3 separate regions of the Homo sapiens genome follow, and regions 2 and 3 are each linked to region 1. The links are contacts of gene promoters, found by promoter capture Hi-C in blood cells and fetal thymus (Javierre and others, 2016). All regions are on one chromosome and are shown on one strand. The core of a region is centred on a gene start or on the middle of the fragment in contact, and the rest is flanking DNA. Distances in the headings are between cores, read along the strand shown.

Evidence for each region. Contacts are between HindIII fragments. The CHiCAGO score rates a contact against its expected background, and 5 or more counts as called.
Region 2: a fragment that was not itself captured here is called in contact with the fragment with the promoter of PKD2 in region 1 in 9 of 17 cell types (naive B cells, monocytes, fetal thymus and 6 more); the score reaches 8.6 in naive B cells.
Region 3: a contact is called between the fragment with the promoter of HERC5 here and the fragment with the promoter of PKD2 in region 1, in 4 of 17 cell types (monocytes, fetal thymus, erythroblasts and 1 more). The highest score is 7.6, in monocytes.

The regions. Positions count from the first base shown.
Region 1 is chr4:88,006,146-88,009,181 of GRCh38, forward strand. PKD2 (polycystin 2, transient receptor potential cation channel) reads left to right here and starts at 1,490. Exons shown (of 15, transcript NM_000297.4): 1 at 1,490-2,183. The coding sequence starts at 1,589. RefSeq lists silencers at 1,253-2,182, 2,233-2,372. The HindIII fragment of the contact is 13,052 bases long and covers 1-3,036 here.
Region 2 is chr4:88,508,503-88,511,538 of GRCh38, forward strand. It overlaps the pseudogene NCOA4P2. Among named protein-coding and RNA genes, the nearest start is that of PIGY, 14 kb to the right of the region's middle. The HindIII fragment of the contact is 2,048 bases long and covers 366-2,413 here.
Region 3 is chr4:88,455,521-88,458,556 of GRCh38, forward strand. It overlaps HERC5 (HECT and RLD domain containing E3 ubiquitin protein ligase 5), which reads left to right and starts at 1,599. Exons shown (of 23, transcript NM_016323.4): 1 at 1,599-2,014. The coding sequence starts at 1,750. All of the region lies in intron 1 of LOC102723458 (a long non-coding RNA gene), which reads right to left. RefSeq lists an enhancer at 1,229-1,658. The HindIII fragment of the contact is 3,677 bases long and covers 37-3,036 here.

The sequences.
Region 1 (3,036 bases), core at 240-2,739:
TTCCTTCCTTCCTTCTTTTTTTCTTTCTTCTCTCTCTCTCTTTCTTTCTTTATGAGACAGAGTCTCACTCTGTCACTTGGAGTGCAGTGGCCCGATCTTGGCTCACTACATCCTCTGCCTCCCGGGCTCAAGCGATCCTCCCACCTCAGCGTCCCTAATAGCTGGGACCAAAGGCACACACCGCAAAGCCTGGCTAATTTTTGTATTTTTTGTAGAGACAAGGTGAGCAAATAAATTTCTGTTAAGCCACCCAGTCTCTGGTACTTTGTTATGGCAGCCCTAACAAACAAATACAGGAGCAGATTATGAGAATTTACTAAACCAAACCACAGAAATTAAATTTTATCCTTTCAGCTGCCAGAAGCCCACAGAGGTGTCTAAGCATCAACGTGACAAATAAGCAGCTTTGGTTCTGCAATATAACCTGGAAATAGTGAGGACACCGACGTGGAGAATAGAGATGGGAGTTGACAGGGATCAATTGTTCTAATGCGGAATAATGCAAGACATAAGATCAAGCCAGCAGGAGTGAGAAACAGAGATCATATCAGGGTGATATCTGTGGGGCAAAAGTAACAAGAAGATAAGGTGTAGGCGGTGGAGGGTAAACCGCGAGGCTTCCATGAAGAAGAGTGGCCTGGGAAGTGAGGAGGACAGCGAAGCCCCAAACCTCACCTTGGGATACGGGAAGTGAAGCAGGTTCCAGAGAAGGGGACAAGATAATGACTTAGGGTAGGATAAATTTCAGACAATTGCAGAGCATCACATTAGATGTGTTCAGAAGAGTGGAAATAAAGTTCTGTGCCTAGGCCCTCATGCAGGATTCTGTTGCTAGAAGTCAGTGCTGGCCGCAGGGAGACCGGAGATCACAGTGGAGGCACCAGCGATCCGAGAGTCCTATGACGAATCCCTGGGATCCCCACAATGTGTGGAGACAGAAGCCAACCAAAGAGCGAGAAAGCATCTCCAAACCAGCAGAATCAGGGGCAGGAGGCCCGCCAAATGCACAGCAAGTCAGCCTTGGTAGTTTGCAAATGGAAAGATTTCTTTGACCCGCTGGAGACTTCAGCTCAGGCTGGATGTCGCTAATTCACACCATCTCACCAAAAGGTTCTTTCCCTGCCCTTTGGTGAATCGAGGCAGAAGTGGCTGGTGGATAACTGGGACCCAAGAGTTATCTCAGCGTCGGGCAGGCATCGACAGCTCCAGGAGCCCTTTCCCTGCAGGCGGGCTGGCGGGTGAGCGATTCCCTCCCTTCCCAGGCCTTCCCGGGAATGGAACGTGGGCGCCCGCGCCCGGGCTCCGGTTCCACTTGGAACGCGGACTCGGGAGCCGCCGGGCGAGCGCGCAGACCGCGGGGGCGGCTCCCTCGCACCTCCCCGCTCAGCGCGCCGCGGCGGATGGGCGAGGCGGGGCGAGGCCAGAGGGAGGCGGGCCAAAGGGGCGGGCGAGAGGACGCGGGACCGCGGGGAGGTCGGGGGCGGGGAGCAGGCGGCGGCGGGCGCCGGGAAGAAAGGAACATGGCTCCTGAGGCGCACAGCGCCGAGCGCGGCGCCGCGCACCCGCGCGCCGGACGCCAGTGACCGCGATGGTGAACTCCAGTCGCGTGCAGCCTCAGCAGCCCGGGGACGCCAAGCGGCCGCCCGCGCCCCGCGCGCCGGACCCGGGCCGGCTGATGGCTGGCTGCGCGGCCGTGGGCGCCAGCCTCGCCGCCCCGGGCGGCCTCTGCGAGCAGCGGGGCCTGGAGATCGAGATGCAGCGCATCCGGCAGGCGGCCGCGCGGGACCCCCCGGCCGGAGCCGCGGCCTCCCCTTCTCCTCCGCTCTCGTCGTGCTCCCGGCAGGCGTGGAGCCGCGATAACCCCGGCTTCGAGGCCGAGGAGGAGGAGGAGGAGGTGGAAGGGGAAGAAGGCGGAATGGTGGTGGAGATGGACGTAGAGTGGCGCCCGGGCAGCCGGAGGTCGGCCGCCTCCTCGGCCGTGAGCTCCGTGGGCGCGCGGAGCCGGGGGCTTGGGGGCTACCACGGCGCGGGCCACCCGAGCGGGAGGCGGCGCCGGCGAGAGGACCAGGGCCCGCCGTGCCCCAGCCCAGTCGGCGGCGGGGACCCGCTGCATCGCCACCTCCCCCTGGAAGGGCAGCCGCCCCGAGTGGCCTGGGCGGAGAGGCTGGTTCGCGGGCTGCGAGGTAAGAGCGCGCGACCCGCAGCGGCAGATGCACGAACCAGAACGGCCGGCGCCGGCCGGGGCCATCGCCCGCTGCGGCAGCTCCCCGGGCTCCATCTCGCATCCCCTCTGCGTTCCGCCTCCCTTGGAAGCGCATTCCCCACCTCCGCTAGTGCTGCCCTATTTCCGGTACCCAGCGCGGAATTCCACTGCTCTTTTGTTGGTGCATATTTATTGGATACCTCCTTCTTCAGGATATGTCACCATAGTCTTTTTTACTGAAAATTAGTGAAAGCCTAATTAGAGTGAAAGAGTACATCTGGGTTTTGTTTTTTTTTTTCTTGTAGAGGAAAAAATGAACATTACTTGTGTAACTGATGGTAGTTGCAACTGCATATTTGCCAATGTCACAAAATCTAAAGGAAAATGTTATAGTCACCCGTGGTTTCCTTCTTGCCTGGACACTCCATTGTCCCGGGCTGAAAAGGGTAGCAGTACAGTGCATATAATGTCAAGTTGTGGGAGGAGTGTGGCAGATTGTCATTGGTGCATTTTTTTGGTGATGTGTGTGGTTGTTTTGAGGAGTGGGAGCTGTTAAGAACACCACAAATAGAATAAAATAATATCGTGAAGTTATTTGGCCGTTTCTAATTCTAGACATTTTTCTAAAAACAGTTGCAAAGGAAAGATTACATTGTTTTAAAAAAATTTGAAGTATGTTTTTAAATAACTAAATTAATGTTCTTTGAAATTCCACCAAAATGATGAAGTCACCAGATAGCAGCTGATAAATGTGTCTGAGCCCAGTGCGCCCAGCTCTACAAAAGGCAGAAGAGGAATTTTCAAATTTGCCAGTGCCCAGTAAGAGGACATGA
Region 2 (3,036 bases), core at 140-2,639, 500 kb after region 1:
GAAACACAATTATTTGGCAAGTCACAGTCACTTAGCTCATGGATGTGTAATAATCTGCAGAAAAGCTGCTGAACTCTTGTCTGTTCCTTCACATCTGTAGAGGAGTTTGATATAATCACTTCTCTTTCTCGATTTTAAGCTTCATACAGGCAAAGAGATCACAAAATGTAGGGTAGCCATCATGGTCTTGGGGGAAGTTATGTTCCTCCTGTAGGGGTGGATTAAGTAATACTTCCTGGCCCTTCTTCCGAAGTAGCCACTTGTCTTCTCCAGAGGATCACTGGCTGAGGGTGCCCATCTTCTTTCCTGGCAGGATCCAGTCAGCTGTATTAAAGGGACACCAGGAAGTGATTGTGGGGCTTTTAAGCTTTTGTTGGCCAGCCCTGTCCTCAGTACTAGGCACTTCCTTGGGAATTCCTTCCTTATATGGGGGCTGGATTAGCCACTCTGACAAGGGACTGTTGTTTATGACTTGAATCAGCAATTCTAGAAGGAGCCGTTGCCTTTGATGCCTTAGCTTGTTCTTTTCTTGAAGGACAGGACCACATATTCAGGGAATCTTGATGCTTCTCAGGCTCAGGTTTGGTTTCCTCAGGCATCCCATTATTTTGTCTATCTTTCTTTAGAAGCCACTTACACAGAGCTTCCTTCTCAATTCTCATCATACACTCTGCAAAACTTCTGCAGGGCTCATTGGCTGTGCATATGTCCTCTACTTTATATGGGTCCTGATGGTTCTGGACAAGTCAATCCTCAGAAACGATGCTGAGGGTAGAAAATAGTTTCTTGGCTTCCAAGTAGTCATTCAGGCACTTCACATTGCCCAGGTTTTTCAAAATCTCTACACTATTGGGCTGGTTGACCCAACAGTTGATATAGGAGTTGGTTTTGACAAGCCAATCATTCACATTGTAGGAATGGAACAAGAATTTAAACTTCTCACTGGTTTCATAACTGCCATTCTCAGGCTTCTCCAACTTACAGGATTCCTGGGGAATCACCAGCCACTAGATAGATCATCTCACCTTGATCAGAAAGCTCTAGATCTTCCACCTTTTCAATTAAATGGAGAAAGAACTGGTAGTAAAATGGCTGTCACTTTGGATAACTTGGTTTTTCTGGAACTTCTTGTTGCTGACTCTTGAGGAGCAAGTTTTCAAAGCCCTTTAGGTTGCCTGAGACATTACTGAAGAAACTGCAGGCTCTGGAAGAAGTCTATTCTCCAACGTCTGCTTTTGGGTGAGCCAGTCGTGGGGGGTTGTTCCTGAAGACCACTGGTATGGTTGCTTCCAAGGAGCCATTCCCTGAGAGGGACATCTGTGATGCTGGATGCTGACTTCTGCTCTGGCATTAGGATATAGCCTCTCTTCTCCAGGAAGGGCCTGATACTTGATAAGCTAGCATGAGGCATGAAGTGTTTAGGAATTTGAATGGTCTTGAGAAACCCAAATGTGGTGATAGTCATGCAGAGCAGTTGTGTCTGCTTCAAACAGCAGGACAGTTGAATCTTCAAACTTAAGGGTCAAACTGCCCAGTCTCTCCAGGCACACAGAGACTTGGCTAGATCTTTGTTTTGGGTGCACTTCCGTTAATGAATAAGACCATTGAACTGGCCCAATAACCAGTAGAGCTGCTGGGCCTGTGGCTGAAGTGTCTCCTCTTTAAGCTGATAGATGAGGTCTACCTGTTCATACAGCCACCTCACAGTTCGTAAGGCATTCTAGGTGACAGCTTATACAACTCTGAATCTGAGTTTTGACTTCTCACAAGTTATCTTTAATTTGCTGTTTGGCCCAGGGAACTCCACCAATAGCAAGCTCCAAGTCCTTCCATGCATTACTACATCTCAAAAGGGGTTCTCTATTACTGGAGTAGCCACTCTGGTCATGTGAGGTATTCATTCTGCTCACTGCTCCAGCTCCCAATCCCTCTCCGGGTGATCCAGGGGACTTTGGGTGGACAGAGACACAGCCCCACACAAAACTCCTGAGGAGTCTTTTTAAAGGGAATCTTTTCAACTGACTGGAACCTTTTTGCTTCCTCCTTTATTCTTTACATAGAACTGTATTACCTACTATTGCTCTGACTCCAAGTAAGGAGTCTTGCAACAATCAGCCACATGAGGAACACAATTCTCCTACTCTGAAGACACAGCAACAAGGGTGCCAGCTTGAACCAGAGAATAAATCTGCTGATGTCTTGATCTTGGCTTCCCAGCCACCAGACTGTGAGATAAATTCCTGTTCTTTAAATTACACAGTCTCAGGTATTCTGTTATAGCGGCACAAAATGGACAAAGACAGACTTGTATCCTACCCACAATATGTAAAGAACTCTCAAAATTCAATAATGAAGACACAATTTTAAAATGGGCAAAGATTTGAACAGACACAAGATATATCAATGGCAAATAAGCTTAACAACGTGTCATTATAGAACTGCAAATTAAAACCCAAGTAAGGTACCACATCACCCCTATTACCATGGCTAAAATTAAATAGACGTACCAAGTGTTGATAAGAATGTGGAAGAACTAGAACTCTTATATACAGTTGGTGGGAATTTAAATGGTTTGACCACTTTGGAAAACTGTTAGGCAGTTTCTTAAAAAGAAGTATCTACCATATGATCCTGCTATTCTACTCTTAGGAATTTACCCAAGAGAAATAAAAGCGTATGTCCATGCAAGGATTACATACAAATGTTCATAGCAGCTTTATTTATAATAGCCAGAAGTGGAAAACAACTCAAATGTCCATCAATAGGTGAATACATAAATAAATCGTGGTCTGTCCATACTATAGAATAATATTCAGCAATAAAAAGGAATGGACTGTTGACACAACAACATGCAGGAATCTCAAAATAATTATACTGGGTGAAGGAAGTTAATGATTATATCCTGTATGATTCATTTATATAAAATGCCAGACAATGCAAGGTAAAGTATAGTGACAGAAAGCAGATCAGTGGTTGCCTGGGAAATGGGATGGGGGTGAGGAGGGACAGGAGGGAAGGATTACAGAATGGCACAAG
Region 3 (3,036 bases), core at 349-2,848, 450 kb after region 1:
GACAAGACCCTGGGCAGGCTTCCTCAGCTGCACAAAAGCTTGTGAGGCAGGTCAGAGATTCTCCAGGGACCCTCCCTTATCTGCCTCCAGCATCTATCGATACTATAAAGAATAATTCATTTTAAATATAATGAAGACCAACAATTATAAAACTTCCAGAAGGTAACAAATGAGGAAATCTTATAATCTTGAATTTAGCAAAAATGTCTTAAGTAGGACAAAAAAGGTATGAACTATGTAAAAGAAAAAAATGGATAAATTACATCAAAATTGAAAACTTCAGTGCTTCAAAAGACACTTAAAATGAAGAGGCAAGCCACAGACAGGTAGAAAACATTTCAAAACGTATAGCTAATAAAGAACATGGTATGAAACATATAAAGAACTCAATAATATATAAAGAACTCTTAGATAAAAAGTCAAGCTAGCTAATAAATAAATGGTCAAAAGATTTGAATACACACTTCACAAAGAAGAGATCCTCCTGCCTTGGGCTAAAAAAGGGCTGGGGTTACAGGCAGGAGCCCAGGCCCAGCCTTGTCAGTTGATTTTCGGTGACCCTTCAGAGGGCAAAGGGGAAGTTTTCTCCTGTTCCCTACAACCGACAGGCCCATCAATTGGTGAATGGATAAATAAACTGTGGCTTACCCATATGATAGACTACCATTCAACAATAACACAAATGAATTACTAATTAAACACAATAGTATGAATCTCAAAGCATTGTGCTAAGTTAAAAAAGCCAGACATCACTTAGATATGGTTCCGTTTGTATGCATTCTAAAAAAGGCCTAAAGCACATCACTGTTGCCAGGCACCCGGGAATACGGGAATACGTAGCGGAGCGGGCACGAGGGGGGTGGGGGTGGGGGTAGGGGTGGGGGGGAGGGTAGCTGCCTGCATAGCTCTGCCCAGTTTTATGCCGGTTTCAGCCCGGCGCACAACGCATTTTTTTTTTTGATACATAGTCTCGCTCTGTCGCCCAGGCTGGAGTGCAGTGGCGCAATCTCGGCTCACTGCAAACTCCGCCTCCCGGGTTCCCGCCATTCTCCCACCTCAGCCTCCCGAGTAGCTGGGACTACAGGCGCCCGCCACCACGCCCAGCTAATTTTGTTTTTGTATTTTTAGTAGAGACGGGGTTTCACCGTGTTAGCCAGAATGGTCTCGATCTCCTGACGTCGTGATCCGCCCGCCTCGGCCCCCCAAAGTGCTGGGATTACAGGCGTGAATCACCGCGCCCGGCCGCGGCGCACAACGCTTAACAAACTTTGGCTTCCGTTATCCCTCCCTCTGGAAATGCGTGTGTCAGGGTGCCTCCTAGTGGAACTGCAGCGTTTCCTCGAAAGCCATTCCGTCCAGGAGTTAAGGTGGCCGCTGCCCGCCCGGGGACACTTTCTCAGTCCAGCCCATCGGCCTTTACCCCAGCCAACGACCTGTTGCCTTTGGCCGCCTGCCAAGTCACTCTCATTACAGTTTCCTTTTCCTTTTCGATTCCGCCCCCTAAAAACAACAACAAACATTATGTTTCGTTTTCCACTGGAGCTGCAGGCCCCGCCCCCAAACAGCACGTGGGGGGCGTGGCGTCCCGGCAGGGGCTCAGTAGCTGAGGCTGCGGTTCCCCGACGCCACGCAGCTGCGCGCAGCTGGTTCCCGCTCTGCAGCGCAACGCCTGAGGCAGTGGGCGCGCTCAGTCCCGGGACCAGGCGTTCTCTCCTCTCGCCTCTGGGCCTGGGACCCCGCAAAGCGGCGATGGAGCGGAGGTCGCGGAGGAAGTCGCGGCGCAACGGGCGCTCGACCGCGGGCAAGGCCGCCGCGACCCAGCCCGCGAAGTCTCCGGGCGCACAGCTCTGGCTCTTTCCCAGCGCCGCGGGCCTCCACCGCGCGCTGCTCCGGAGGGTGGAGGTGACGCGCCAACTCTGCTGCTCGCCGGGGCGCCTCGCGGTCTTGGAACGCGGCGGGGCGGGCGTCCAGGTTCACCAGCTGCTCGCCGGGAGCGGCGGCGCCCGGACGCCGAGTGAGTGGGGCTGGTGTGTGAGGGCTGTGAGGGCTGTGAGGGGTGAGGGCTGAGGGCTGTGAGGGGCGGGCAGCCGGGGGTCCGCGCCTGAGGGAGGAGAGCCCAGAAGGCCGCAGACGCGCGCCTGGCTCGGATAGTTTCGCCGACGGCGCACCTGAGCTGTCTTTTATCCCGGTCAGTGTCAGGCGCGGGGTGAGCGGGATACTGGCGACCAGCGGATCCTCCGCTCAGCAAAGTGGCCGGTGCGGGGCATGCGGGCACCGTCTTCATCCTTTTAGCCAGTCTGGCTTTCTCATAGGTTTCTGTTCAAGTTTGTACCCCCGTCCCCCGCCCGCCGCATCTCCCACTGTCTCGTTTTGAGAAAGTAGTCACTGCTCCAACTTTGGGAGTCGTTCTCAGTGATGGGATTTTACCTTGGCCTTCAGTTGCACTTCTCCCACATTCTCATCGAAGTGGGGGAAATAGTTGCCCGCGTTCTTTAAAATTTTGCCCATCTGTGGAGTGAAGAAATTGGTATCTTGCTGCGAGTTTATTTTGCGTTTAACTACTGGACGTTTGCGTTCCTTTTTCGGTAAATTGCCTGTTTATCTTTGCCTGGCTTTTAGAAATTTGAGTTGTTAAATCTTTTTCTTATTTGTATGGAAGAGGTATTTGAATATTGAATAAGAATAGCCTTTTGCACGTCGTACATGTAATATTTTTCTCACTTTGCCTTTTGTGCATGTTGTTTTTAGTGCATTTTTTGGGGGGTAGTCTGTCAATTTTTTTGTCTGTTAAGGCTTATGGGTTTTATGTTAGGCTGGAAAGCTATCCACACTCCCAGTGTTTTAAAAAATGTACTCATTTTTGTAGTAATTTTAAGGTTTTTTTTTTTAAGTTAAAATTTTTCGTACGCTTGGAATTTTCAGTACTGAGGTAGGAGGGGAGCTAGATTTATTTGCTTTTCCAAAGGCTTAGCCTATGTCCCAATACCATTTCTTAATACTTCCTTTTTTTCAACTGATTTGAAATGCTGAGACTCT